Linked DNA regions of Homo sapiens: all the other regions are linked to region 5. The links are contacts of gene promoters, found by promoter capture Hi-C in blood cells and fetal thymus (Javierre and others, 2016). All regions are on one chromosome and are shown on one strand. Each heading gives the region's core, a stretch centred on a gene start or on the middle of the fragment in contact. The rest is flanking DNA. Distances are from core to core; before and after follow the strand shown.

Region 1 (4,510 bases), core at 903-3,402, 140 kb after region 5:
AAGTGCATGTGACCTGTAGCATTTCCATGGCCTGTGCCATTTCTAGGCAGAAGGTTTAAGGGCCAACAAGAGATCCCATCATTTTCCTTTTTTCCAGTCCTGTGCTAGTAAACATTTAACAACTGGCTCTTCTAGAGGGAAAATATTTGCCACATTCTGTAGTATATGTACTTCCACCATAACTGATTTCAAGCTACCAATGTGACATTACTGAGCACAAAGTTGGGAAGAGATATACACTATCAGCTTTCTCTAATGCAAGTTATACCAGCATACCAGTGTACCTTTTCCCTCTCTTCCAAGAACCGAACCTTCAGCCTGCATCACCTGCAGCTAACATGTAACCCTTTCTGTAAGCTGATATTTTGGGGTTATTTGTCGCTGCAATATAACTTAGCTGAAGCTGACTAATACACTCCCAGAAACTTTTTATTTGGCTTTGGTAACACTCCTTCTTCATCATTTCTATCAATAAACACTAATCAGTGTCCCACTACATATGAGAGACAACATAGCATAGTGGTTAATAGAATAGACTGGAGAGGCAGACTGGAGAAGCTTTACTCACAGTTTCCAAGTGTCTGGAAGTAACTATAAAGGCCTAATTTGCATATCAACTGGGAACTCCTGGAAATGAGAGTGTCTCCAAGAGATATATTTGATGCATGTCCAGAGAATTCCTGAATGAAAGAATCTGGGATTGTCAAGCTGATATCATGAACCCCACATTTAACAGAGTTAAGTGAAGAGATGGGACAAAGGCCAGGCTTGGGAAGGAAGGAAAGATCAACAAAGGCCTTACAGGGCAGATAAAAATTGATAGAATGGGCTGAGGGCATTGGCTCATGCTTGTAATCCCAGCACTTTGGGAGGCCGAGGTGGGTGGATCACTTGAGTCAGGAGTTCAAGACCAGCCTGGCCAACATGTGAAACCTCGTCTCTACTAAAAATATAAAAATTAGCCGAGTCTGTTGGTGGGCACCTGTAATCCTAGCTACTTGGGAGACTAAGGCAGGAGAATCGCTTGAACCCAGGAGGCAGAGGTTGCAGTGAGCTGAGATCGAGCCACTGCACTCCAGCCTGGGCAACAGAGTGAAACTCTGTCTCAAAAAAAAAAAAGGGGAAAGAAAAAGAAAAAGAATGTGGTGGCCGTGCACGGTGGCTCATGCCTGTAATCCCAGCACTTTGGGAGGCTAAGGTGGGGGATCATCTGAGGTCAGGAGTTCAAGACCAACCTGGCCAACATGGTGAAATCCCACCTCTACTAAAAATACAAAAATTAGCCAGGCATGGTAGCAGGCACCTGTAATCCCAGCTATTCAGGAGGCTGAGGCAGGAGAATTGCTTGAACCCCGGAGGCAGAGGTTGCAGTGAACCAAGGTCACACCACTGCACCCCAGCCTGGACAACAGAGTGAGACTCCGTCTTAAAAAAAAAAAAAAAAAAGGATGTGGTGGGTAGAATGAAATTTCAGGTTTTCTTCTTTAGTCTCTAGTCATTCTCTGATTCCTTTCCCCTCAAGTGTTGGCTTCCCAGCTTTTAGTCGTCATTCTTCTCTCCTCTCTACCCTCCCACAAAACAAGCTCATCTCCTCTATGTCTTTGACGCAGGTAGTAATAGTTAACATTTACTGAGTGCTTACCATGAGTAGGGCACCGTGCTAAGTACTTTACATCCATTATGTAATCTGATACTCACTGTGATCCTGTGAAGTGGGTATCGGCATCCTGATTTTGCAAAGAGAAATTGAGGCCCAGCAGGGTTAAGTTACTTGCCATGTCACATAAGGTGCTTTGGGCAGTGAGTATCAGAATGCCGACATAGATGCGGTTTGAACATTAGGGGTTTATCTCTCATCACAGGAAGTGTGGAAGAAGGTGACATCTGAGTTGCTTAATTCAGCAGCTCAGTGATGTCAGACCCTAGGTCAGCTTCCCTCTGAGTCTCGCAGCTCTCCCCTCCTGGTCCCAAGATAGCTGCTACATTTCAAGCGCTGCATCATCCCTGAGGCAGGCAGGAAGGGAGTTTTTCTTCTTGTGCATCTCTTTTTCCTGGAAAGCAAAGCCTCCCACAAAAGCCCCCAAGAGAATTTCCCATAGGACCCTGTCTCCTCTCCCCCTTTTTTCTTTCCTTACCCTCTTGAGTTGTAACTCCAGCCAGACTGACCCTCTTTCAACTCTGTACCAAACAGAAGTCTTGGTGGCTAACCTAAGCAGTGAAGGAATTTATTGAATACTGTGAGGTTTTCACCAATTCCAAACATGAGTAGGAACCAAAAGTAATTAGGCTAAGAACACAGCCAAAGACATGGCACAGGAAAAGCCTACCTGGACAGCCACCACTGGCCACGGTCCACCCACTGAGGCTGGACTCTTACCTCCCCACCAAGAACAGGCCCTGCCCCTTCCTCTCTCTCCCTCAAGAGTCAAAGTCCTGGGCAGGACATCCCACTGGCCAAGCCTGGTCACGTGCTCACTCCCCTGTTGCCAAGAAGGCAGGCAAGAGTCTGCCCTTTCAGCTTCTGCAGGGTGGCTCTGTTTTCCCCCAAGTTCCTTGCAGTGAAGGATTTCCACAACACAAGAGGGGTGTTCCTCTGCCAAATATCACAGTTCCCCTCAACTTTCTATAATATTTCTTTTTTTTTTTTGGAGATAGGGTCTTGCTCTATCCCTCAGGCTGGAGTGCAGTGGCATGATCTTGGCTCACTGAAACCTCCGCCTCCCAGGTTCAAGTGATTCTCATGCCTCAGCCTCCCGAGTAGCTGGGATCACAGATGCTCGCCACCATACCTGGCTAATTTTTGTATTTTTAGTAGGGATGGGGTTTCACCATGTTGGCCAGGCTGGTCCTGAACTCCTGACCTCAGGTGATCTGCCCACCTCGGCCTCCCAAAGTGTTGAGATTACAGGCATGAGCCACCACGCCCAACCTCTTGTCATAATCTTTCTTAACTCCAGGCCTTTGCACATGCCATTCCCTTTGTCTAGAATACCCTTCTTCCCTCTCTTCCCTAAGCAAATCCTCCTTGTTCTTAAGGTTTCATCTCACTTACACATCATTTCCCCTCAAATCTGAGCTGGGGGCTCCTCTATTGTGCTGTTACTGAAGCCTGTACCTTTCCCAGCACAGACTCCGTCAATGTCTTATTTGTTGTTTTTTTTGTTTTTTTCCCCCGCTTGACTGCAAGTTCTGTAGAAGTGGAGAGTTTTCTTTTCTTTTCTTTTTTTTTTTTTGAGATGGGGTCTTGCTCTGTCACCCAGTCTAGAGTGCAGTGGCACAGTCTCAGCCCACTACAACCTCTGCCTCCTAGGTTCAAGTGATTCTCCTGCCTCAGCCTCCTAAGTAGCTGGGATTACAGGCACATGCCACCACACCTGGCTAATTTTGGTATTTTTAGTAGAGACAGGGTTTCACCATGCTGGCCACGCTGGTCTTAAACTCCTGACCTCAGGTGATCTGACCGCCTCGGCCTCCCAAAGTGCTGGGATTACAGGTGTGAGCCACTGCGCCCAGCCCGAAGTGGAGAGTTTTCTAAAGGTGGAAACCTTGCTTTTGTTTTGTTTTTAGAGACAGGGTCTCGCTCTGTCACCTGGGCTGGAGTACAATGGGCTAATTATAGTTTATGGCAGCCTCAACCTCCTGGCAGCAAGTGATTCCCACACTTCAGCCTCCCAAGTAGCTAGTGTAAGAGTTAAGAAAGAAGAAAGAAACACGAAACGTGACTTAACCCCTTAAAGACAAGCTTATTTTAGAGAAAAAATAAGGAGTGCTTTCTCTTACAGAGATATATATTGGTTTTAGGGTGAGGGGGCTTATTACAAGCTTGGAATGTTTATGTGTTGGGGAGAAGTTTATGGCGGGATTGGAATGTTCTGGGCAGAGGGGAGGTTATCTTGAGGCTGACATCTTTTCAGCAGGTGTGGGGTTATATTCAGGGCTGGCATCTTCCCAGCTGGAGGGGGGTTATTTCGGGGCTAGCATGTCTCTGGTTGAGGAGGAGTTTGGAATGTTTCTGGTTGGAGATGTTATTTGTGGTTTATGGTCATGCTGACCTAAGCCATTAGGCTGATGCCCTTTGGATTTAGACGGTTTTTGATTAAGGTGAATTTTAAAATGGCCGTGCTTGTCCAAGATGGTGATACTCCTGCTCTATCAGCTAGAACCAAAGGTGCATACCACCACACCGGGCTAATTTTTTAAATTTTTTCTGGGGTTCTCACAAATTTCAAACATGAGTAGAAACCAAAAGCAATTAGGCTAAGAACACAGCCAAAGACATGGTACAGGAAAAGACTACTTGGACAGACATGACTGGTCATTGTCCACCCACTGCTGCTGGACTCTCACCTCCCCGCCAAGAACAGACCCTGCCCCTTCCTTTCTGTCCCTCAAGGGTCAAAGTCCCAGGCAGGACCTCCCACTGCTCAAGCCCAGGCCATGTTGCCCAGGCTGATCTCAAACACCTGGCCTCAAGCAATTCTCCCACCTCGGCCTCCCAAAGTGTTGAAAT
Region 2 (4,930 bases), core at 481-2,980, 240 kb after region 5:
CAGCCTCCCGAGTAGCTGGGACTACAGGCACCCGCCACCACGCCCGGCTAAATTTTTTGTATTTTTAGTAGAGATGGGGTTTCACCGTGTTAGCCAGGATGGTCTCCATCTCCTGACCTCGTGATCCGCCCGCCTCGGCCTCCCAAAGTGCTGGAAGTACAGGCGTGAGCCACCGCGCCCGGCCGGTTTTTCTAGCTTTCTACTAGAAGCTTCCTATTAAAATCAGCACATGACCCAAACATATTTTTTAAATCTTCACGTTTGGTTACATGGAAGCAACAGTGTAGTGGAAAGAATAGTGGCCTTGGAATCAGAGTTATAGTTTCATGTAACTACCATGGCCTTGGACAAGTCATTTAGTTTTAAATTTTAGTTTTCTCATCTAAAATTGAGGCTATTAATGCCTAGTTATTTGGAGGATTAAATATGAACATATGTTAAAACACCTGATATGTGGCGACTGCACACAGTACCTGTTCATTAAGTAAATACATTAGTTCTCTGAAAAGTCATTGCAGGAAAATGCCTACTGACTGTTTTGATGCTCTGCTGTCTTGAATTGGATGTTTGGTTCTATCCCCAGTGGCAGATGCCTGGAGAGCCCTCAAGAATCCCAGCATTGGGGAAAGCAGCATTGAAGGCCTGACTAGTGTATTGAGCACTAGTGGAAGCCCTACAGATGGACTTAGTGTTATGCAAGGTCCTTACAGCGAAACGGCCAGCTTTGCAGCCCTCTCAGGGGGCACGCTGAGTGGCGGCATTCTCTCCAGTGGCAAGGGAAAATATAGCAGGTAAACAAATAGATAATTTCTGACAGAAATGGTTAGAATTATAAGAAGTAACACATTGAGCCATTTCTCTGTGCCAGGCTTGTGCCACGTATCATCTTATTTTGATTTAATTGTCAATGGTTTTGTTTTGTTTTGTTTTTACTTTTTTATTTTTAAAGACAGAGTCTCACTCTGTGGCTCAGGCTGGAGTGCCATGGCGTGATCTCGGCTCACTGCAAGCTCCGCCTCCTGGGTTCAAGCGATTCTCCTGCCTCAGCCTACTGAGTAGCTGGGATTACAGGCACCCGCCACCACGCCCAGCTAATTTTTTGTATTTTTAGTAGAGATGGAGTTTCACCATGTTAGCTAGGATGGTCTCAATCTCCTGACCTCGTGATCCGCCCGCCTTGGCCTCCCAAACCGTTGGGATTACAGGCATGAGTCACTGCGACAGGCCTTTTTTTTTTTACTTTTACAAATAGGAAACAAGCTTAGAAAAAAAGGTTACGTCAGTTATGCAAAGTTCATTGTTCTTTCCATTGCACCATAGCTGCCTCTATATAAAGAATAATCCTGACTTGAGATTCCCCCTTGACTGCCTGAGGCTGCCTGCTTCAGGAAGGGAGAGTAGGCATTTTTATAGAATTCGTAAAATGCTCTCCGTTAGGCTTGTCATTGGCTTTCAGTAGCATTTATGCTGTATCATGGCTTATTTATTTTATTTTATTTTTTTGAGACGGAGTCTTGCTCTGTCGCCCAGGCTGGAGTGCAATGGTGCAATCTTGGCTCGCTGCAGCCTCCACCTCCTGGGTTCTAGTGATTGTCCTGCCTCAGCCTCCCAAGAGGCTGGGACTACAGGCGTGCACCACCATGCCTGGCTAATTTTTGTATTTTCAGTAGAGACAGGGTTTCATGTTGGCCAGGCTGGTCTCAAGCTCCTGACCTTGTGATCCACCCGCCTCAGCCTCCCAAAGTGCTGGGATTACAAGCATGAACCACCACACCCAGCCCATCATGGTTTATTGATAGTGGGCTTTGGGGATTTTTTTTTGTTTTTTTTCTCACTGTGTCATCCAGGCTGGAATGCAGTGGCACAATCATGGCTCACTGCAGCCTCAACTTCCTGGACTCAGGCAATCCTACCACCTCAGCCTCCTGAGTAGCTAGGACTACAAGTGCACACACCACACCCAGCTAACATTTTAAATTTTTTGTAGAGATGGGGTCTTGCTCGGTTACCCAGGCTGGTCTTAAACTCCTGGCCTGAAGCCATCCTCCCAACTTGGCTCCCAACGTGCTAGGATTATAGGCATGAACCATTGCCCCCAGCTGGTTTAGTGATACTGCAATCCTTATTACCTTTCTATTTCCATTTGCTAGATAAGGAAAATCAATTCTATGTACTTGTGTTGAAAATATGTAAAGCTTTGTAACTAAAAAGATTGTGACTTGCTTGGTCATTTCACTAGTTAGGCAGACCAGAGTGTATATTTTCAGAGGAGCATAACATGTTGCCTGAGAAGCAGTTGAATGCAACGGAGAAGAAAGGCCTAGGGAGGGGTAAAGGTAGAACAAAGCAGGATAGGAAGGTAGAGGAGATGGTTGCCTTCAGCTATCCAAAGGACCTTCAACTGTGAAAAGGATTAGACTTCTATGCCTCATACCAAAAGGTAGATTAAGATGACTTGGCAGAAGCTAAAGGGAAACTAATTTTGGTTCAGTATAGAGAATATAGGGAAAAGCAACATGAAAGCCCAAAGAGGAAAAAGGCTACTTTAGTAGATACTGAGCTGCCTATCCCTGGAAATGTTTACAATGAGACCAGATGGCTATTTGGCTATAAGAAGGATTCAAGCAACAGATGGCAGGTGGACTGGATCTCCCACCTGAGTGCCTGTCAATCACTTGGGAGCCTCTTAAAAATAGACTTCAGGGACCCATCCCAGAATGAGTAGCTTAGAATTTCCTGGAGTGGCACCTAGGGGGTGATCCGTGTTTTGCAAAAGCTCCCCAGGTAATTCTAGCACAGCCGTTGCATGAACCAGCATCTGACAACCACCTAAGTAGGAGCCCTTTCTGAAAGACTCTTCCAACTCAGAGTGATTCTGTGGCAGACCTGAAACTAGAAGCCAGGTCTCTGACACTGTGCACTTTCCATTGCATTCCCTCATTTCCCTGGGCCTTGGCACATTTTTGAAGGGCACCTGAAGCTGGAGCAGCAAAGCAAAGGCTCAGGCAGTAGGATGGAAGCTGCTTGAATGTGCAGCTGCAGGCTGCTACTGACCCGTCTGTGCATCTCATGACTCTGGTTGTCTCTTATCAGGGGATCCCGCCCCCACATGCTGGCATATTCACTGCTGTGCTTTCTTAAAACCAACACCCCTGTAAATAAGCAGACAGACATAATTGGAGACTGACTTGCTGAAACTGCAGCTTAGCCAGTCCAGCTGTTCTAGTTCTGTGAAAGCCTTTATTTTATAGGAAGTGAATGAGTCAGATGGGTTTGACTGTGAAACCCATTATAAGGAAATACTTAACTGTGCAACAAAGTGATGTTGGAGCCAAGAAAGGCAATAGTTATGGGCTCTGAGACACTATTGGGAAAGTTTGCTGCTCCAAGAGGAGGGAAGAGGTTGGCTCCTGTATGTCCTTCAGTCTCATTCCCTGGAGGTAATTTGATTGTTAAATGTTTGATTTCCTATTATGTGCAAGGCAGGGAAGGTAAAGTGTGTATGAGTTGTGGTCTCTCCTTTTGTGGAGTTAACAGACAAGTGAGAGATGCATAATAATAAGTAGGCAGGGCCTGCGCACGCCTGTAATCCCAGCACCTTTTTTAGGTGGGTGATCACCTGAGGTTTAGAGTTCAAGACCAGCCTGGCCAACATGGTAAAACCCCATCTCTACTAAAAATACAAAAATTAGCTGGGTGTGGTGGTGGGAACCCATAATCCCAGCTACTTGGGAGGCTGAGGCAGGAGAATCGCTTGAACCTGGGAGGCAGAAGTTGCAGTGAGCCAAGATCGTGCCACTGCACTCCAGCCTGGGTGACAGAGTGAGACTCCCTCTAAAAACAAATAATAATAAATAAGTAGGCAGGTGCTGTGGGAGTACTTAGCAAGAAGTGAATGGTTTGCTGGGATAATGAGGGGAAGTGATAGTTCCTTTGTTGTTAAGGACTGAGTATAAGTTTGTCTGGTAGAGAAAGGAAATTTCTAGAGAGACAGAATAGCATGTGCAAAGTCATGGAAGTATAAAATGTATAGGTATTTAAAGAAAGAAAGAATTCAGAGTGACTATGATTTCGGATCTATAGGGAGTGATAGAACTGGACAGAGAGCTTCCTGGCAGATCAGGAAGACCTTAATGCCTGTTGGCAGTAGGGAGCCAAGAGTTAGAGAATTGTTAGAGTGATTGGGTCTTTATTCACACTGGCACTGTTCTAGAGGTTGTTTGACTTGGACTTAAGGGCTACTGGAGAGGGAGCCCAGTTTTAGTCATCCAGGCAGGAGATGATGAAAACCTGAAGTTCAGCAGTAGCTGTGGGGATAGAAAGGAGGGGACGATTTCAATAGATATTTAAGAGAAAAAATGTATGGGCATCTATTTGCGCTGTTTGACAGTTGGAGAAGATCAGACAGACAACCACAATTTGCAAGAGAGTAATGGAAGAGATGTGTGCCAGGAAGCAGACTGTCTTGGAATACCCAGGTCTCATATTAACTTGAACGTCCCCTCTTTACACAGGTTAGAAGTTCAAGCCGATGTCCAAAAGGAAATTTTCCCCAAAGACACAGCCAGTCTTGGTGCAATTAGTGACAACGCAAGCACTCGTGCTATGGCCGGTTCCATAATCAGTTCCTACAACCCACAGGACAGGTATGTGAACAGTCAGATGTCCAGGAGAGGTTGCATTTTTTCGTTGGGTACTAGGTCTTCAGAAGTTCAATGCCTCATGTTAGGGCTGTATGTACCATCTCCTGGGATATATAGTGTAACCTGTGAATTCATTTGAGCAAGTTCTTGGTACTTGAGTGTTTGGCATCTCTTGATTCTTCTTGTTAGCGCTTGATTTTTAGAGATTTCTTTTCTTTCTTCCTTTTATGTATTTTTTCTTTTTTTTTTTTTTTTTTTTGTCTTTCTTGGCTATTGCAACAGTGTAT
Region 3 (4,329 bases), core at 1,820-4,319, 220 kb after region 5:
TTGGTGACAACTCTCAACTATTTGGAAGTTATTAAAAAATTAGGCCATTTCTTATTTTAGCCAAGTATTATGTTAGTATCCTCCAGATTTTATTTTTTTAATTAGTTAGAAGAATGATAATCATATATATAGTTATATATATAAACAATGTATTTTTTTATATGTGTCATCTACGGACTTAAGGTGGAGTTTGGGGAAAGAAGAAAGCTGGCCTCTCAATACCTGTGTGCCAGGTATATATAATTTAATTCGATACAACCTTGTGAGATAGGTTTAGGTTTGATATAGTTTTATAAATGAGGAAACTAAAGTTTAAGGAAATTGAATGACTTGTTCAGGGTCATATAACTAGTAAGTGGTGGAACCAGGCTTAGAACAGGGGTCTTAATTCCAACCAATGCCAATATTCCTTCCATTCAGCCCCTGTTTTAAAAAGCATTTGCTTGTCAACATAGCCGCATTATTGAGGATGCTGCTGCTTGGGTGCATTTCATTAAGTGTAGCCTGAGGACAACATGGAGAAAGCCAAAGATACTAGAGTCTAGTTTCCTTTCTGATTCCTGTTGTTAACAGCCTCCTACCTACGTTATTTTTCTTATCTGAAATAGGTCTAATTCTTTCCTGACTTGAGAGGTTTAATTAATGTTTACACGGTGTTTTGAGATCTTCAGTTGAAAGTGGTTATAGGGAGTAACTTTAAAATTCTGTTAGTTGCCAAATAGATGCCTGAGTTCTCCCTTGGGATGTGCCTAGTGGCTTTGCATCTCTTTTTTTTTGAGACAGCGTCTCGCTCTGTCACCCAAGCTGGAGTGCAGCAGTGGTGCAATCACGGCTCACTGCAGCCTCAATCTCCTGGGCTCAGGCGATCCTCCTGCCTCAGCATCTCAAGTAGCTGGGAACACGGGTGCATGCCACCAAGCCCAGCTAATTATTATTATTAATATTATTATTATTATTTGTAGAGATAGGGTCTCCCTGTGTTGCCCAGGCTGGTCTCGAACTCCTGGGCTCAAGCTGTTTTCCCGCCTTGGCCTCCCAAAGTGCTGGGATTATTGCTGCCTCTTTTTAATGCCAGGAAAAAAAATAGCTTCTGTGTTCTTACTGGATGTCATGGTTCCCTTGTTTTGTTTTGAACAGTGTTGTTTTGTTTTGTTTTAGAGACAGAGTCTCACTCTGTGCCCAGGCTGGAGTGCAGTGGCATGATCATGGCTTACTACAACCTTGAACTCCTTGACTAAAGCAGTACTCCCACCTCAGCCTCCTGAGTAACTGGGATTATAGGCACGAACCACTGCACACTGCTCCTTTGTTTTATTTTTTTAAACAAATCGTTCTATTCTTCTGGGGCTGGTAGAGGTCATTGATAAACACTAGAAGAGAAGTCCAAGTCCCAGTTACCTCCTATTCCCATACCTGACCATCTTTACTGCCCACAGATAAAGTTCTTGCCAGCCAAATTGATCAGGTCTCCCCTCTGCCTTGTTTGTATGTGCATTTGGTAGGGTGAGGGGGGCATGTGAGCAATCTTACAGGTTCTGATCATTAGTTTTACTATAATTACTCATAATAACAAGAACACCATACATTCAGAGATTCATGATTTGTTTACAGAATATTTGTAGGATAGAGCAAAGAGTTTTGGATTTTTCTTCTCTTACACTCAAATATGGTTTTATTTTATTCATAAATAAGGGAACCAATTTCAGTGGGAAAACATTCACATTATAATTTTTTTTTTTTTGAGACGGAGTCTCGCTCTGTCACCCAGGCTGGAGTGCAGTGGCACCATCTCTGCTCAGTGCAAGCTCTGCCTGCCGGGTTCACGCCATTCTCCTGCCTCAGCCTCCTGAGTAGCTGGGACCACAGGCGCCCACCACCACGCCTGGTTAATTTTTTTTTTTTTTTTTTTTGTATTTTTAGTAGAGACGGGGTTTCACCGTGTTAGCTAGGATGGTCTCGATCTCCTGACCTCGTGATCTGCCCACCTCGGCCTCCCAAAGTGCTGGGATTACAGGCGTGAGCCACTGTGCCCGGCCTCACATTATTATTTAATATACTAAGAACAATATGGCCTAGTATAATCTTAAAACAAGCTGTCAAATGAGATAAAATTAGTTCAAAATACAAATAACTGATTTTTTATAGTTCTTTATAGTCTTCAGACTATAATCTCATTCAGACATAATTTCATTTTAGTCTCATCCAGGTGGATATTGGCGTGCATTTTATAAAGGAGAAACCAGTTCAGAGAAGTTTAAACATGGGGCCTAGTGTTTCATTGCTAATAATTGGTACAATTGATCTTTTACGCTTTTGAGTCTCTGCCCAAGTATGTCTTTTCAGAAACCCCGAAGTCAGGTAACTGTAATGTTTTCCTCTCAAGTATCCTGTTGCTAATCTTAAAACCCTTTCAGAATCTCTAGGAGACTGACGGGTGAGCAAAGTAGGCAACAGAAAATTTCCTGGTGTACAGGGGCAGATCTTCTGTACAGATGAATAAGAAGGGATAAGGCTGTCTTGACCTAAATTCTTTGTGCAGGTCCACCACTCCAGCCTTTCATTGCTGCCTCTGTCCTCTGCAGAATCCTTCCTCCCACCTGATCCCAGGAAACAGTATCAGCTATTGGCCTTCCCAGACAACTAGACTGGACCATCCCATAAACAGGAAGCTTTTTTCATCCCTAGCACATTTATGAGGGAAGATCAAGCAAGCTCTTTGAGCAAGACAAATTTCAGTCAGTGAAGGAGGATTTTTGCTTTCTGAAGCCTCCCTGAACCTCTTCTCTTGATTTGGCTCCATACCTCCTGTTCCACAACTTTTCCCTGCATTCCCCAACTCCACACCACCCCCTCCTCTTGTGCACGTACACCAACCTCCATCCCAATACATCTGTCTCAGATTTGCCAAAGTACTTGTACTAAAGGAGAACATCTGTATCACTCCCCTGCCTAAGACTATTCATTGACTACCTAACCTATAAGATGAGTTCTTATTATGTCTTTGAGAACTTATTTGATCTACCCTTATCATTTAAGCTCCTTTACAGTTTCCAACCATCTTTTTTTTTTTTTTAGATGGAGTCTCGCTCTGTTGCCCAGGCAGGCTGGAGTGCAGTGGTGCAATCTCGGCTCACTGCAAGCTCCACCTCCCGGGTTCATGCTATTCTCCTGCCTCAGCCTCCTGAGTAGCTGGGACTACAGGCACCTGCAACCATGCCTGGCTAATTTTTTGTATTTTTAGCAGAGACGGGGTTTTACCGTGTTAGCCAGGATGGTCTCGATCTCCTGACCTCGTGATCCACCCATCTCAGCCTCCCAAAGTGCTGGGATTACAGGCGTGAGCCACCACGCCCGGCCATCTCCAACCATCTTTTGATTTTATTTTCTATTTTTCACTCACATCACTATTTCCTAAGGTATGTTATAGGCATTACTTGAAAGAAAAATGTTTTGTGAGGAAATAAGCTTGGAAAATACTGAGTTAAACAAAATAAAACAAGTTTATGAGTTTCTTAAATCTTTAAACATGCTAATATGCTAATATGTAGTATAAATCTTCAATATAATGTAATTTCCCCAATTTAGATCACCAGGAAACAGGTTTTTGTTTTTTCTGTAGCATCTTTAAGGCTTAACTCAAACTTTCCCTAAACTCCTTTAATAGTTACCATGCTGGCCTGCCTTTGGTTAGTGTCCTTATTTAACCATAAACCTTATGCTCTGAATAGATTGAGAGCTCATGTCTCTAGACTAGGATATCTATATTCCAACCATTTCTACAACTCTGTGTACAAAGTCTTTCAATTAGGCTCTAGAAGAGTGTGGTACATAGATGAATTTTGATGAAAAAGATAAGAAATATGAGCAGCATAGTTCTCAGAGGAAGAATAGAGATGAAAGAGATAAGCAAGAATAGTATAGACAGGTGATCATTCAATTCAACAGACAACTTTTTTTTGAGATGGAGTCTCGCTTTGTCGCCCAGGCTGGAGTGCAGTTGTGCCATCTCAGCTCACTGCAACCTCTGCCTCTCGGGTTCAAGCGATTCTTCTGCCTCAGCCTCCCAAGTATCTGGGATTACAGGCATGTGCCACAATGTCCAGCTAATGTTTGTATTTTTAGTAGAAACAGGGTTTCACCATGTTGGCCAGGCTGGGCTTGAATTCCTGACTTCAAGCGAGCCACCCGCCTCACCCTCCCAAAGTGCTGGGATTACAGGTGTGAGCCACCACACCTGGCTTCAACAGATACTTTCAGAATGATACACTGTTGAACCCTGGGTGAGTACTGGGTATTTCAAAAAGAACTTAGACATGGTTTTCTTGATAG
Region 4 (4,443 bases), core at 1,802-4,301, 240 kb before region 5:
GGTCTCTCTGAGTAATGATTTGACCAAGTCCTGACATCACTTGACACTTACCACTTGACCAAGTCCTACGCCAACCAACCTGGATTCCTTTGTGGGGGAAATCAGACAAGACTGAGATTGTGTTGCCTCCTCCCATTACCTGTCTCATCCCCGTTCAGAGTGTTTGTTCTCATTTTCTATGCCCAACATGGACCAGGTAAGCCTAAGAAAACGTGAGAAGAAAAATATGAAGAGATGTCCAATATAAACTGCAGTATACATCATGAAACACAGTTTACATGGCTGGGCTGGGTCTTCTCCATAGTCTCCTAGTTATGCTGTGGCATGGTCTCCATAAGGCACTGTAGTAGTTATCCACTGCTGTGTAACAAATTACCCCAACATTTACCAGCTTAAAACAAAATTTTCTACTTATCTTTTAAGACTCAATTCAAGCATTACCTCTCAGAAGGCATTTCCCAGCTTGCTTTTTAAGAATTAGTAATCTTCCTCTTTGATATTTCTTCGTACTTCAGCATCTCATTATAGCATTTACCACATTGTTATAATTGCTAGGGACCATGTCTTTTTCATACCCTTAACTTCAGTTCCTAAAACTATTTCTTGAATGTCACAGATGCTCAGTAAATGGTTGTTAAAAGAGCTTAAGAATAACTCATACCTTTATCGGCTTTCACTTTATTCTTTATAAAACGTAGGTATATTGCAAAGTATCCAGCCTTGTTTCCTGTGATAGGCTCATATATCGTTGTTGAAGGTTAAATGTAAAGAAACGTTGTATATGTCCAAGACTGCTTGACTTGCCAACTTATCTACTCCAGTGAAGACTTCTTGAATTTATCTTTATCTATAGGTCTCTGTGCCATTCCTAGTCTGAAACCAATTCTGGCCCTTATAGGAAATTATACAGTGAGCACCCCTAGTCCAAAGATACTTGGTTCAATAATAAAATCAACATTTGTTCACTATTCAGATATTTGACTCTTAAATTTTATGAGGGTACATCTGTGTCTGGCTTATTCACTGCTCTTTTCCCGACACCATGCCCTAGTAGCTGCACAGCAAATACTTAGTGAATGAATTAATGAAACTCAATTCTTGATAATTCATGTCCCATTCCTGTTATCCAGGTCCTGACCTCTGATCACCCAGAATCTTAGGCCTGATTCATCATTTCATGTGACCCAGACTTTTTGTTTTGGTCCTTGACTTTTATCTTCCAGGGCCTTATTATGGCTGGATAAGAATCTGACTCCTTGCTTACTCAGAACTAAAGTATCTCTTTGTTTCTTGATCGTCCTAACTAATAATATAGGCCAGATGCCCTTAGAAAAATATTATTTTCTCTACCTGAAGCCAGAAACATTCCGAATACATATTAAATGTATTTAAAAATATTTAAACTGAAGATAATTACATTCAAATTTCTAAAGAAAGTGAACAGGCCCTTTGAGAAACAAGTTTTGGGCAGAGACCAGCGTCTAAAATTTTGTGAGTCTATTAGAATGATTAACTTGTAAGCTTCAGCAAATCAATGCAAATTAATTTTTATACCCACCAGTGAATCAAAGGAGGGGAGGGAATTGAGTGAGTGTGTAAATATGGTTGCTAGGGAAACTTTTCCTGACAGAAGAGAGAACCTCGCAGGAATTTTTACAGGCCCACAGAAGCAATGTAACCTGATCTTTCTCTGTTCTCTTTCTAATGGGGGAAGAAAAGATGTAGAAACCATGGGTACAGATAAAGGTGGCTTTAGACTTTTCAAGAGACTTGAGGAGTAAGTTCTCCAGAACAAATGATGACTATTATAAGGCACCCGTTCGTTTTAAGGAACCATCTGGAAATGAATCTATCTCTAAAATAGTATTAATGAATCAATCTCTATAATAGTATTAATTTACTCAACAAATATTCAGCACTTTCTTTTTTTTTGTTTTTTGTTTTTTTTGTTTTTTTTTTTTTTGAGACGGAGTCTCGTTCTGTCGACCTGGCTGGAGTGCAGTGGTGCAATCTTGGATCACTGCACCACCTCCGCCTCCCAGGTTCAAGCGATTCTCCTGCCTCAGCCTCCCGAATAGCAGGACTACAGGTGTGTGCCACCATGCCCGGCTAATTTTTGTATTTTTGGTAGAGATGTGGTTTCACCACGTTGTCCAGGGTGGTGTTGAACTCCTGACCTCGTGATCTGCCCTCCTCGGCCTCCCATAGTGCTGGGATTACAGGCATCAGTCATGTGCCCGGCCTTATTCAGCACTTTCTAAATAAAAAATATGTATTTTCATTGTCCAGAAGGAAATACAATTATAAGCAGTTGATAATTTGAAAGTACTGCATTACACCTAGTTCTTCCAAGTTTTGCCCCAAATTAATTTTTTTAGTATAGGGTAATGTGAACTTAATTAAATATTTAATGCTGTTTCTAGAAATAAAATTCTGCTTCTGTACAAAAAGCTTAACAGGAGTGTATCTTCTGTTATTTCTATTCTTTGGTTGCTGCTCCTGAGAAAAAACTAATTCATTGGTCCATAAAGCCATACCCCAAAGTAGATGTTCATCTAGTGACAGTGTCATCTTAATTTTAGATATAGTACCAGTGTAGGACACATCCGTCTCCTTGATGGCTAAAATCATGAGATCCTTCTTATTTTAGCTGTACGGGATGGATGGTTTCAGGTCTTAAAATCTTGGCTGTAAAATGCATTTGGATTGAAATATGGAACACTGTCCCATATCTGAAGCCTACCATTCAGTGTCTCCATTCCTTCTCTTCCCACTTTTATTTTGTTTTCAGTTACAAATAAGGCTTGCATTTGTTTGAAAAAGTATATACTTTTTAAGCCCTTTAATACTTCAATGTGCTAGAGTTATGTTCCAAGCACAGTATCTTCCGCTGGCCTGCAGAGAGGCAGTTGGAGGTAAGGGTTCACTGCAGGGACACTAGAGCCATAATGCTGGGGTTCCAGCCTTGCCTCTGCCACTCATGAGCTGTGAACTTCCCAGCCGCCTTCCATCTGTACTCTCTCTGCTCTAGTCTTCTTGGGTATAGTGGGGGAGAATCACAGTCCCTACCTCGAAGAATTATAGAATTAAACAGGTTAATAATGTGAGGTACATAATAAGAATTGTGTAGGTTTTACCTTTCTTTATTTCCTGGGGCCTCCTAGATAGAATTGATATTTGAAGGAAGAGAAAGTTGAGATGTATAAAGGTATAATAACTTGCCTAAAGTATACAGTAAATTTAGGCTCAGACTATTCTCATTCTTAAATTACCAAGGAAGTTTTCCATTCCGCCTAGTAAGAGAGAGAGAAAATGAGAATTAGAATAAGAGGGCAGAACTTGGCTTTTAGGGCATTTTGAAATAGAGGTTACTTCACATAAGATGGTGACACTAAAGCCCGTGAAAATGAAATTGCTTTCTCAAAGGCAGAGTATTAGAAATGGTTTGGAATAATATAAGTAGGGAATGTGGTACTAGGTCAGGCCCATTGTATAACCAGCCAAAAATTTGGTTTCTGATCATGATAACAAAGCTCAGTTGGAAGGGTGTATTGTAGCTTCAAGCCATGACAAAATCTTCTGATTACAGGGATGGGCTTGCCCATCCTTTTAGTATCCTTCTGTCTTTGTTTACCTGAGTATTTAAGCTTTATTTCTATTTTTGGCCTCTACAATCATATTTATTTATTCAACAAACATTTAATAAGCTTCTATACCTCACTCTAGCAGCTGGGGGGATTCAAAGATGAGGAGAACCCAGGCCAGGTACTACAGAGGTTTCTAAAGAAAGAAAGACATGGAAACATTAATTATGGTATTGTACTTAGTACCATAATAGAAGTATGGTCCCTGCTTAGAAATGTTAGGAAAAGTTTTCTGGAGAAAGTGACAGGGTAAGAGGAAGCTTCTCAGCCAGACAGAAGCAATGTCTGCAAAGGTGAGGTTGTATTTGCTTGAGAGAACACATATGGGGGGACCTCCAAACAACCTTTCAAGACCACAGCAGAACATTTGAGGAGGGTCATTGCAGAAATAAGGCTGAAAAGTAGGCTGGCATCAAATCACAAAAGGCTTGGTTTACCAGGCTAAGGAATTTGGACTTTATGGTGGAGGCCATAGGGAGCTGTTAAAGCCCTTAGGAGTAACGAGATCAGATCCGCCTTTTAGAAAGAACACATCAGCAATGTGAAGGGTGGTTTGGGCAGGAGTGAGACCAGAGACGGAATCATGCAGTTAGCGAAGAACCTTTAATGAGCCTTCTCGTCTACTGCCAGTATGTTTACTCTTGAATATATATGTTTGTTCATTCAACCCCAGTTTGTTAATGGCATGTGAGATACTAGACTCACTGCTGGAAATACTGAGAAACAACACACCACCCATGTCTTGGAGTTGCTTGCAGTGTTTTATTTGTCCTAAACACAAACGTTCTTGAGTTTTCAG
Region 5 (4,344 bases), core at 1,682-4,181:
CCCTGTCTTTACTAAAAATACAAAAATTAGCCAGGCATGGTGGTATGCGCCTGTAGTCCCAGCTACTAGGGAGGCTGAGATAGGAGAATCACTTGGACCTGGGAGGCAGAGGTTGCAGTGAGCCAAGATCATGCCACTGTGCTCCAGCCAGGGTGACAGAGCGAGACTCCATCTCAAATAAATAAATAATAAAAACAGCTGCAAAATAGTATGGAGAAAGCTGGGCTGCTGCAACAAAAGACCCAAAATACAATGGCTCTTAGAAAATAAGTTTACTTCTCACTCTGTAGTCCATGTCAGGGTGGCTGTACTTCATGCAGTCATTCAGGAACCCAGGATCCTCCCATATCTTTGCTCCATCAGCCCTTTTGAAGCATTATTGAAGCTGTGTCCCTGGTACATCTATGTTCCAACTCAAGAGAAGAGAAAATGGAGCATGGGAGAGCAAAAGCTTCATGCCTTAAGGTCTATTTCTATTTATGTTCTATTAGAAAGATTTTAGTCACCAAGTCTCACTCGGCTGCAAGAACAGCTGGGATGTATGATCTCTAGTGGACCAGCCATTCCTCCGACTGCTACTCTACTACATAGAAGAACAGGAGGATGAAGTTTAGTGGACAGCTAGCAATTTCCATCACATCTCCTTTATTTGAGCCTTGGTATCTTCCTCTATAAAACGGGGATAATAATATAAACTAGTTAAGGCTGCTTTGGGACTGAAATCCAATAATATATGTGAGAATGCTTAGCAAGCCCTACTGTGCCTGATAAGAATTTCTCATTGATTTTGCCCTCTAGACTGCCAGCTCCTTGGGAGCAAGGAGCATAGTTTATTCCACCTCCTCACAAAGACCTGCTTGGAGTCAGCATCAGTAAATACATGTTGAATAATGAAGTCACTGTTTCATCCATCATCAAGCCTTTTTTTTTTTCATTTCATTTCAAATGCTTCAATAATTTAGACTCTGCCCTGTTCACTTTCCCCACCCCCTCATTAGGGGTGCACGTCAGTATATCAGTTGGGATTCTCTGGGTTGCAAAGTGACAATGCACTACTGTTAAACTGGCTTATGCAATAAGATGGACCATCTCACATATCCTGAAGTCCAGACTCTGCATCAGAATAAAAGCTTCTCTTCCCTAGGACTCTCTTGGCCTTGCCCTCCCTTCTGTATTTGCTGCATCCTCAGACTGGGAGCAAGATGGCTGTTGCAATTCCAAGCATTGCCACCAAACATATCCCAGCAAAGGGGGCAGACTGTTTTGCAAAGTAAAGAGACCATTTCCTGAAAACCCCTCTCTGCCATAGGCTTCCCCTTTAGTTTTTCAGGCTGGACCTGCCCAAACCGTCACTGGCAAGAGGAATGAGACCACCATAATGGACTTGGACCAAACAAGACTCACTCCATGAGACCACCATAATGGACTTGGACCAAACAAGACTCACTCCTGGAAATGGGCTGGGGTCAGCCTTCCTTGGGTCACTTGGGGAAGGGGGCCACCTGACCAAAATCAGGGCTCTGCCCATAAGAAAATGTTGAGAAACTGCTGTTGCATGAGCAACCAACTATTTTTCTCGCAATGATGGAGATTCTGGGCCAGATGAGGGTGTGATGGAGAAAGTGTTAACCATAGAGAACTAAACTGAGAGCTTTTTCATAAACTGTACCTCAATAAAGTTTAACACCAATGAAGATATTTCTGGAGGAGGCAGAAACTGGTAGCCACCCTCTATGGCTCATTTCCCTCACCCCCGTATCCAACCATCACCAAATGTCACCGTGTCTGTACTTGCAATACCCTAGTCTTCTCTCCTTACCCACTGCTGAGGCCCCAGTTCGGGTCTCACCTCCTGCAGGCACGATGACAACAGCACCTTAGGGGTGCCCAGTCTTTCCTTCCTCCTGCAACCCAGGGCGTTGATGCGGTTATTCAGCTACACACCTTTACTGTGTGCTGAGTGCTGTGCATCCGCAGACACATTGGAAAAGCTCCCTGTCTTCTTCACCTTGCAGATGGTATAATGATTATCTCCAAGACTTCCTGAAACCCAATCGGACCAGGTCATTCCCTTGCCTGAAAGCCCCATGCCTTCAAGAAATTCTTTACCATGACCCACAATGCCCTCCAGCCCACCCAGGCTCCTTCTCCACCCCACCCCCAACAGTACAGAATTACTAGCACTTCCTTCACTGCGCCCTCCCCTTTCACGCCTCTATGCTTTTGCACAGGCTGTCTCCTCTGCCTAGAAATCCCTTATCCCCTCTCCATCTGGCACACAAGACAAGTTCTCCTATTACTTTTTCTCCCTCTCTCCTGCTCCACCCCTCACCGCCTTACACACACACACACACACACACACACACACACACAAATACAGCACTCCAGAATTGTTTGCCAATGGAGGCAGCCTCCGGGGCCAGATGTTAGCCAGGGCTTTCCAAACTTCTCCCCAAGCACTCCTTAAGAAAGTGAAGAGGAAATGGGACCCCAGGGCTTAGGAGTGTGAGGGCCTTGAACTCGCTCTAAGCAAGCAGGGCATTTCAAGAGTTTTATCTTTATATTTTATGCAGAAGTTGTATTCCAAATATATTCTTGTTCGTTTTAATACAAAATATGATTTTTTCTACATCTTCAAATCGATGATCCAGAAAGATGCTCCTTGTTTATTTGTTGTGCTCTCAAATTAGCTGCTCCGCCTCGCCGCGGGGACCCTAAGCGAGACCTGGATGCAGTTCCAAGTACACACCCCGAAGGAACAGCTGGGCTTCGCTTCCCTGGGAGCTGGAGGATGGTGGGGGTGGGGCGGGGTCAACCGGCTGGTGGCCCCGCCCCTCCCCCGCCCGCTGCGGGGGCGGAGTTGCTTGGGTCCCGCCCACGGGGGCGGGGAGGCAGCCGCGGCCACCGGCAGCTCGGATTCGGCTGGTTCCGGGTTGAGAGGCTGCGCTGGACCGAAGCGGTGGCTGCTAAGCTCGCGGGGGTAAGGGGTCGCGCTGGGCCAGGGTTTGGGGCCGGGATCCGGCAGCTGAGCGGGCCGGCACCCCTCCTCTTCTCTGCCGGTCACAGCCAATGTACGGCTCGGCCTGGCTGCCCCCTCCCCCAGGATTCCCCATCCCCAGCTTCTCGCCCTCCCCGCACCGCCCCCACCCCGGGATTTCGACCCCCTTAAGGGCTCCACCCCGCTCCGGGATCCCCTTCTCCCAGCTCCTATCCCTTAGGACTGCCCCGCCCCCTAGAACCTCCCCGTCAGGATCTCCGTCCCTCAGCCGCTCACAGCCTCCTCCCAGCGCCCATCGCCTTGAGCTGCCCACTACCTCTAGACTGCCCTCCCGGGCTGGCGTCCCACGGAGTCTCAGCCGCGCACCCCTTCCTCGCGTTACCCTCCTTCCGGACAGCACCCCCTCCCTTCTCCGGTAGCTCCTACCCCTGCCTGTGCGGGCCTCGTCCCCGCGCCCAGCCCTCGGTGCTGCCTCCGACAGCGCCGCGCTCTCTCAGCCGCCCCCCTGCCCCTCGGGCCCCCCTCTCTGCTGCCCCTGGCGCCATGGCGTGCAGCCTCAAGGACGAGCTGCTGTGCTCCATCTGCCTGAGCATCTACCAGGACCCGGTGAGCCTGGGCTGCGAGCATTACTTCTGCCGCCGCTGCATCACGGAGCACTGGGTGCGGCAGGAGGCGCAGGGCGCCCGCGACTGCCCCGAGTGCCGGCGCACGTTCGCCGAGCCCGCGCTGGCGCCCAGCCTCAAGCTGGCCAACATCGTGGAGCGCTACAGCTCCTTCCCGCTGGACGCCATCCTCAACGCGCGCCGCGCCGCGCGACCCTGCCAGGCGCACGACAAGGTCAAGCTCTTCTGCCTCACGGACCGCGCGCTTCTCTGCTTCTTCTGCGACGAGCCTGCACTGCACGAGCAGCATCAGGTCACCGGCATCGACGACGCCTTCGACGAGCTGCAGGTGCGCTACCCGGCCTGCCTGGGGAAGGGGCGGGGCCGGGCTGGAGGTGGGGCCGGGCGGGGGGTGGGGTCAGGGCTGGACCGCGGGCCAGGCCCAGTCAGAATGGTCCTGGGGCGGGGCCGCCAGCAAGGTCAGGGCCCTATCAGGAGTAACGCGGGGCAGGGAGGGGCGGGGCCGCCGCATGGCGGGGCCGTGGGGGCGGGGCCTTGGGCAGTCCGGACCCTGAGGGATCTGAGACAGACCTGGAGTACCGGCTGGTCCGCGGTTAGGGAGAAGTCGGGGATGCGGATGGGATGGCGGAAACAAGTGAGATCAGAACTGGACCAGATACTGGGCTGGGGCAGGGTTGTGGACGAACCGGAATCAGAGTTGGGCAAAGGCAGGGCCACTGTCAG
Region 6 (4,578 bases), core at 81-2,580, 200 kb before region 5:
AACTATGTTTGGTAACTCTTCCCATCTCAAATTCTAGCCCCTTTTTGCAGGGACTTCATTATGACCATCTTATGGCATCAATGATGACTGCCCCTTTTAAATCTCATATTCAAATGGATAGTGGGGCCCCTTAGAGCAGTGGCTCTCATGCTTCATCAGCATCAGAATCTCCCAGAAGGCTGTGAGAACACAGGCTGCTGAGCCCTGCTCCCAGAATTTCTGATTCCGTAGGTCTGAAGTGGTGCCTGAAAATTTGCATTTTTGGAGAGTTGCCAAGGGACCACATTTTTGAGAAGCCTTGCCTTGGAGCATACAAAGCCATGATATTAACGAGGCTGTTTTTAATGCCTTTGCACCCTTTTTTACCATTAGTTTCAGTTGACCTTTTTAGGCTGGTCAGGTTGAGTATTAGGCAGCATAATAGTTCCCTAAGGCCGCCTTAACAAATTACCACAAACTGGGTGGCTTAAAACAACACAAATGTATCATGTTACCGTTCTGGAGGCTGGAAGTATGAAATCCAGGTGTCGGCAGGGCCATGCTCCCCCTGAGTCCTTCCTCGCCTCTTCCTAGCTTCTGGTGGCTGCAGGTGTTCTTTGGCTGGTGGCAGCATAGCTCCAATCTCTGCCTCCATCTTCACGTGGCTGGCTTCTCCCCGTGTGTGCCTGTTTTCACATGGCGTTCTTTTATAAGGACACTGCTTATATTTGATTAGGGGCCCATAGAAGACACAGAATATATTTTGCTCTGCCTTACAGCAGTGAGTCCAGGGCTGCCCAAGTCTAGACAAACTCATCCATCCCGTCCCCAAGCATTCAGCATCTGCACAGTGTGGCTTTCACTGTACATCCCTTCCAAAAGACAGCAAATCCTTCTTTTTCCTCCTCATATTCTTCAACCAACCAGCACCACCTTGTTATAGAAATACTTGATATAACCTGCCTTTTATAAATTAGGAAGAAAACAGTAAGGTTTCAGAAAGTTTACTCATTTAAATTTATAGTGTTTTGCATCACAATGAAATCATTCTGTTTGGATTGCTAGGACTATATGACCAGCTTTAATTCCTCATCCTTCACTTCTATTTTTGTTGGCCTTCATTTACTTACTTTGGTTTCTAGAGACACTAAAGGTGGCAACATGCAGAGGACAGGGGAGAGGGAGGGACCTTTTGAGATGGTTTGAGCTGCATCCATTTGGACTGCTCCCAGTGAGTCAGTGGCTTCAGACTGGAACAAATCAGGACACTTATGTTCATGCAGCAGCCGAGAGGTGTAAGGAGGCCTCCCCCAGGTCCCCTAAGTCTAGGGAGTCTGAATCTTCTGTTATTACTGCCTTATGCCTCTGGCGGAGGGGCATCCAGAAAGGAGAAGCAGAGCCACAGCAAAGGAATATGTTCACCCATCTCTTCAGACTCTCCATACCAAGCCGCCTCATGATAATACCAGCAGCCACGATGGGGCTGACGAGACTTCTCATTTCCTGCCCAGCTCTGATTCCATTAGGAAAAACCTCACCCTGCCTTACCCCAGGGCTTTAGGCTAGATTTGGAGAGAGGTTTTCAGTATCCTTCCCCTCTGCTTTCCCGGAACCTCTGTCACAGCTGTAATCCACAGCAAATGGATTTCCCTGACACTGGGGACAAAGGCCTAGTGTTTCGTAGACTTGGCGGCTCCTGGGAGGGCAGAACCATCAGCGTTTCTCCAGCTGCTGGTCTCAGGCCCTGTGGGCAGCAGAGACCTGTAATAAGATCACTATCCAAGCCAGTTATATTCAGCACATCATTCAAAGTGGCCCATTGCAGTTAGGAGGGGAGAAGTGACTTAAATAGGAATCATAGCCCTTCAGAGCCCGGGCTCATACAAAACCACACAGTGAGTAGGAACCCAGAGAAAAACAGACTTCTAGTTCTTGATGTTAGCCATTAATGAGATTTGGCTGTGATTTATAATGGGAGTCCGCAGGGATGGGTGGCCTTGGGGAAGAAATAAAGAACTAGTTGGAAGAGAAGGAAAGAATAAGAGTAGGAATTAAAAGGAAATTGAAAAGGGGTGGGTAGAATACTGAAAGCCTAGATACTGTGAAAGTTTAAGGATTCAGATTTTCTAATGTGGGTCACCAGAGGGAAGGATGTAAGGAGAGTCCACAGATGCCTCAGTAGCCCTTACTGAGACTGCAGAATGCCTCCGCTACTCTCCAGCAGCCAGAACTTTGAGCGGAAGGAAGGTGTGAAGGGGGAGATATGAAAGCTCTGGTTCAAAAAGGGGAACTGTAGAAAAAAAAGTTTTAAAGCTGTTATATGGGTCCACACTTACTAATTATGTTTTCTTCCAACTCAAGTTCCCTTCTACTAGGAGACCAACAATAAAGTGACATATGGCAGGACCCTAGCTTCTGGTTTCTCTGCAGGGCAAACTTCACCTCTCTCGTTGATAAGTCACCACCACCATGCGGGCAGGAGGTTTCCTGAGGTGCCTTCCATGGTACTGGATGAGAATCAGGGGAGCCATATCACCCCAAGTCACTTACCTCCCCCACACTGGGTCTCCGTTCTTGCATAGAAAAAACAAGGGAGATTATGGTAATTTTTGATTTCTCATACTGGTTGATGGATACACAAGCATATTATCCTTTATATATATATTACATAGAATATTTTGTAAGTATAAATGGACATTAATTAACAATTAGGGAATTAAATTCAGAGATATCAGTTCGTTTTCAACTGAAAATCTAGTATGCTTTGACACGGACTTCACCCAGTGTGGCTGAAATAATGGCTCAAGGTGAAGTTGCAGAGAGGATCATGGGAAGCGCTCTGGCTTTGGAGTCGGACTTGGTTTTGAATCCCAGTTCTATGATGACCTTACATAAATTGCTTAGATATATTTCTCATTGACAAAATTGGGATAATCATACCTATACCATAAGGGAGGTCATAGTATCTATGATAGTGCTTGACAAGTAGTAAGTGCTCAATAAATAATCACTATTATTAGTATAGACACCATTGATGGAAGGTACTGAAGTGAAATCACAGGTGGCTGATGTTTTAAACTAGTTGGTGAGAAATTTGTGGATGAGGTAGAGATTAAGCTTTCAGATGAGGAGTAGGATGGAGTATGGTGCATTTCAAGCAATTTTATTCAACAAACATCTATGGAACGAAGCACAAGGTATTATGGGAAAATATGACATGATCCCACCCCCAAGCAAATCACTTTCTTGTAAGGCTATGTTGTAAGTGCTAGGAGACAGGCAGGCACAGAGTGCTCTGGGAGCAGCCTTTAAGCTGGATGGCTTAAAGGAAGACACTGGAACCTAATTTGAAGGAAGCAAGAGGAGAAGAGTTGGGGGGGTTGCATTCAGTGCATATTTCACAGGAGAGACTCAAGTTGTTTTGAAGATCTAAGGAGTTGGTTACATGAAAAATTGAAGGAAGGCATTTCAGGGGAGGGGAATAGCGTGAGTGAAACCACAGCGGTAAAAACCACAGAGGTAGGAAGTAGCAAGGCAGCCAAATTCCAAATGACCTGGGCACCTTGGTCATAATGCTGAGACCAGAGAGAGTGCAAGTGTGGAAAATGAGGCCAGGAAGGCAAAATGGGTCAGATCATGGAGGGTTTCACATCCCACATGGAGCAGCTTGTGGGGTGGGGGCACTGGGTGGGCCCAAGAACAGAGGTAATTCAACACATGATGCAGGGACAAATGGATATTCACATGCCCAAACATGGAATAACATATGACCCAGAGATTTCACTGCTAGGTTATACCCAACAGAACAGAAGCAAGGACTTATATGCCGTGTTCATTCCATTGCAACATTATTCACAATAGCCAAAAGGTGGAAACCACCCCAGTGTTCATCAACAGATGAACAAACACAATGTGGTGTGTATGTAGGTATACAATGGAATACTATTCAGCTATCAAAGGGAAAGAAATTCTCATACATGCTACAACATGAATGAACTTTGAAAACATTATGCTAAGTGAAACAAGCCAGACACAAAAGGACAAATATTAATATGCTTCCACTTAAATGAGCTATCTAGAACAGGCAAATTCATAGAGAATGAAAGTAGATTAGAGGTTAGGGGATAGGCAGGGGACAAGGGGGACTGAGGAGTTATTGCTTAATGGTTACAGAGTTTCTGTTTTGGGTAATGAGAAAGTTCTGGGAATAGATGGTGGTGATGATTGCACAACAGGTGAGTGTAGTTAATGGTACTGAATTGCACACTTAAAATCTAGTCATATTCTGAACTTTCCTTCTCTATCCTTTACATAAGTGATTGAGAGAGAGAGCAGTCAAGAGAGTGAGAGAGCACACTTGAAAGACAGCCACAGCTATCAAAAGTGTGAGCTAGAACAGAGGGTGCAAGCTGGGGACAGAGAGCAACATGAGCATGCACTATCCAAGAAGTAAGAGAGAGTGTCTGTGTGAATTGAAGAGACAGACCTGCTGATCAAGCCTGGGATGGCAGATGCTCAGGGAGGGGGAGACTACAAGCGACAGGAGAGAGAGCTGGAGCATGTGCAGCAAGGGTGCGGGCACTTGGGAGAGCCACGGGG

The links. Contacts are between HindIII fragments. The CHiCAGO score rates a contact against its expected background, and 5 or more counts as called.
Region 1: a contact is called between a fragment that was not itself captured here and the fragment with the promoter of TRIM62 in region 5, in 2 of 17 cell types (naive CD4 T cells and naive CD8 T cells). The highest score is 5.4, in naive CD4 T cells.
Region 2: a fragment that was not itself captured here is called in contact with the fragment with the promoter of TRIM62 in region 5 in 1 of 17 cell types (naive B cells); the score reaches 5.0 in naive B cells.
Region 3: a fragment that was not itself captured here is called in contact with the fragment with the promoter of TRIM62 in region 5 in 1 of 17 cell types (naive CD8 T cells); the score reaches 5.0 in naive CD8 T cells.
Region 4: a contact is called between a fragment that was not itself captured here and the fragment with the promoter of TRIM62 in region 5, in 3 of 17 cell types (neutrophils, monocytes and endothelial precursors). The highest score is 6.1, in neutrophils.
Region 6: a fragment that was not itself captured here is called in contact with the fragment with the promoter of TRIM62 in region 5 in 2 of 17 cell types (neutrophils and fetal thymus); the score reaches 6.9 in neutrophils.

The regions. Positions count from the first base shown.
Region 1 is chr1:33,043,348-33,047,857 of GRCh38, reverse strand. No RefSeq gene overlaps it. Among named protein-coding and RNA genes, the nearest start is that of AK2, 8.7 kb to the right of the region's middle. The HindIII fragment of the contact is 3,184 bases long and covers 561-3,744 here.
Region 2 is chr1:32,938,113-32,943,042 of GRCh38, reverse strand. It overlaps RNF19B (ring finger protein 19B), which reads left to right. Exons shown (of 9, transcript NM_001300826.2): 7 at 584-791; 8 at 4,515-4,646. Among named protein-coding and RNA genes, the nearest start is that of RNF19B, 24 kb to the left of the region's middle. The HindIII fragment of the contact is 935 bases long and covers 1,263-2,197 here.
Region 3 is chr1:32,957,463-32,961,791 of GRCh38, reverse strand. The region is part of intron 1 of RNF19B (ring finger protein 19B); the gene reads left to right. Among named protein-coding and RNA genes, the nearest start is that of RNF19B, 5.2 kb to the left of the region's middle. The HindIII fragment of the contact is 796 bases long and covers 2,672-3,467 here.
Region 4 is chr1:33,421,618-33,426,060 of GRCh38, reverse strand. The region is part of intron 1 of PHC2 (polyhomeotic homolog 2); the gene reads left to right. Among named protein-coding and RNA genes, the nearest start is that of PHC2, 7.3 kb to the left of the region's middle. The HindIII fragment of the contact is 1,196 bases long and covers 2,454-3,649 here.
Region 5 is chr1:33,180,630-33,184,973 of GRCh38, reverse strand. TRIM62 (tripartite motif containing 62) reads left to right here and starts at 2,931. Exons shown (of 5, transcript NM_018207.3): 1 at 2,931-3,949. The coding sequence starts at 3,542. It also overlaps a transcript of ZNF362 not described here. RefSeq lists silencers at 2,757-3,066, 3,297-3,366, 3,957-4,156 and an enhancer at 4,239-4,344. The HindIII fragment of the contact is 3,969 bases long and covers 1,133-4,344 here.
Region 6 is chr1:33,379,875-33,384,452 of GRCh38, reverse strand. The region is part of intron 1 of PHC2 (polyhomeotic homolog 2); the gene reads left to right. Among named protein-coding and RNA genes, the nearest start is that of PHC2-AS1, 32 kb to the right of the region's middle. The HindIII fragment of the contact is 3,537 bases long and covers 1-3,098 here.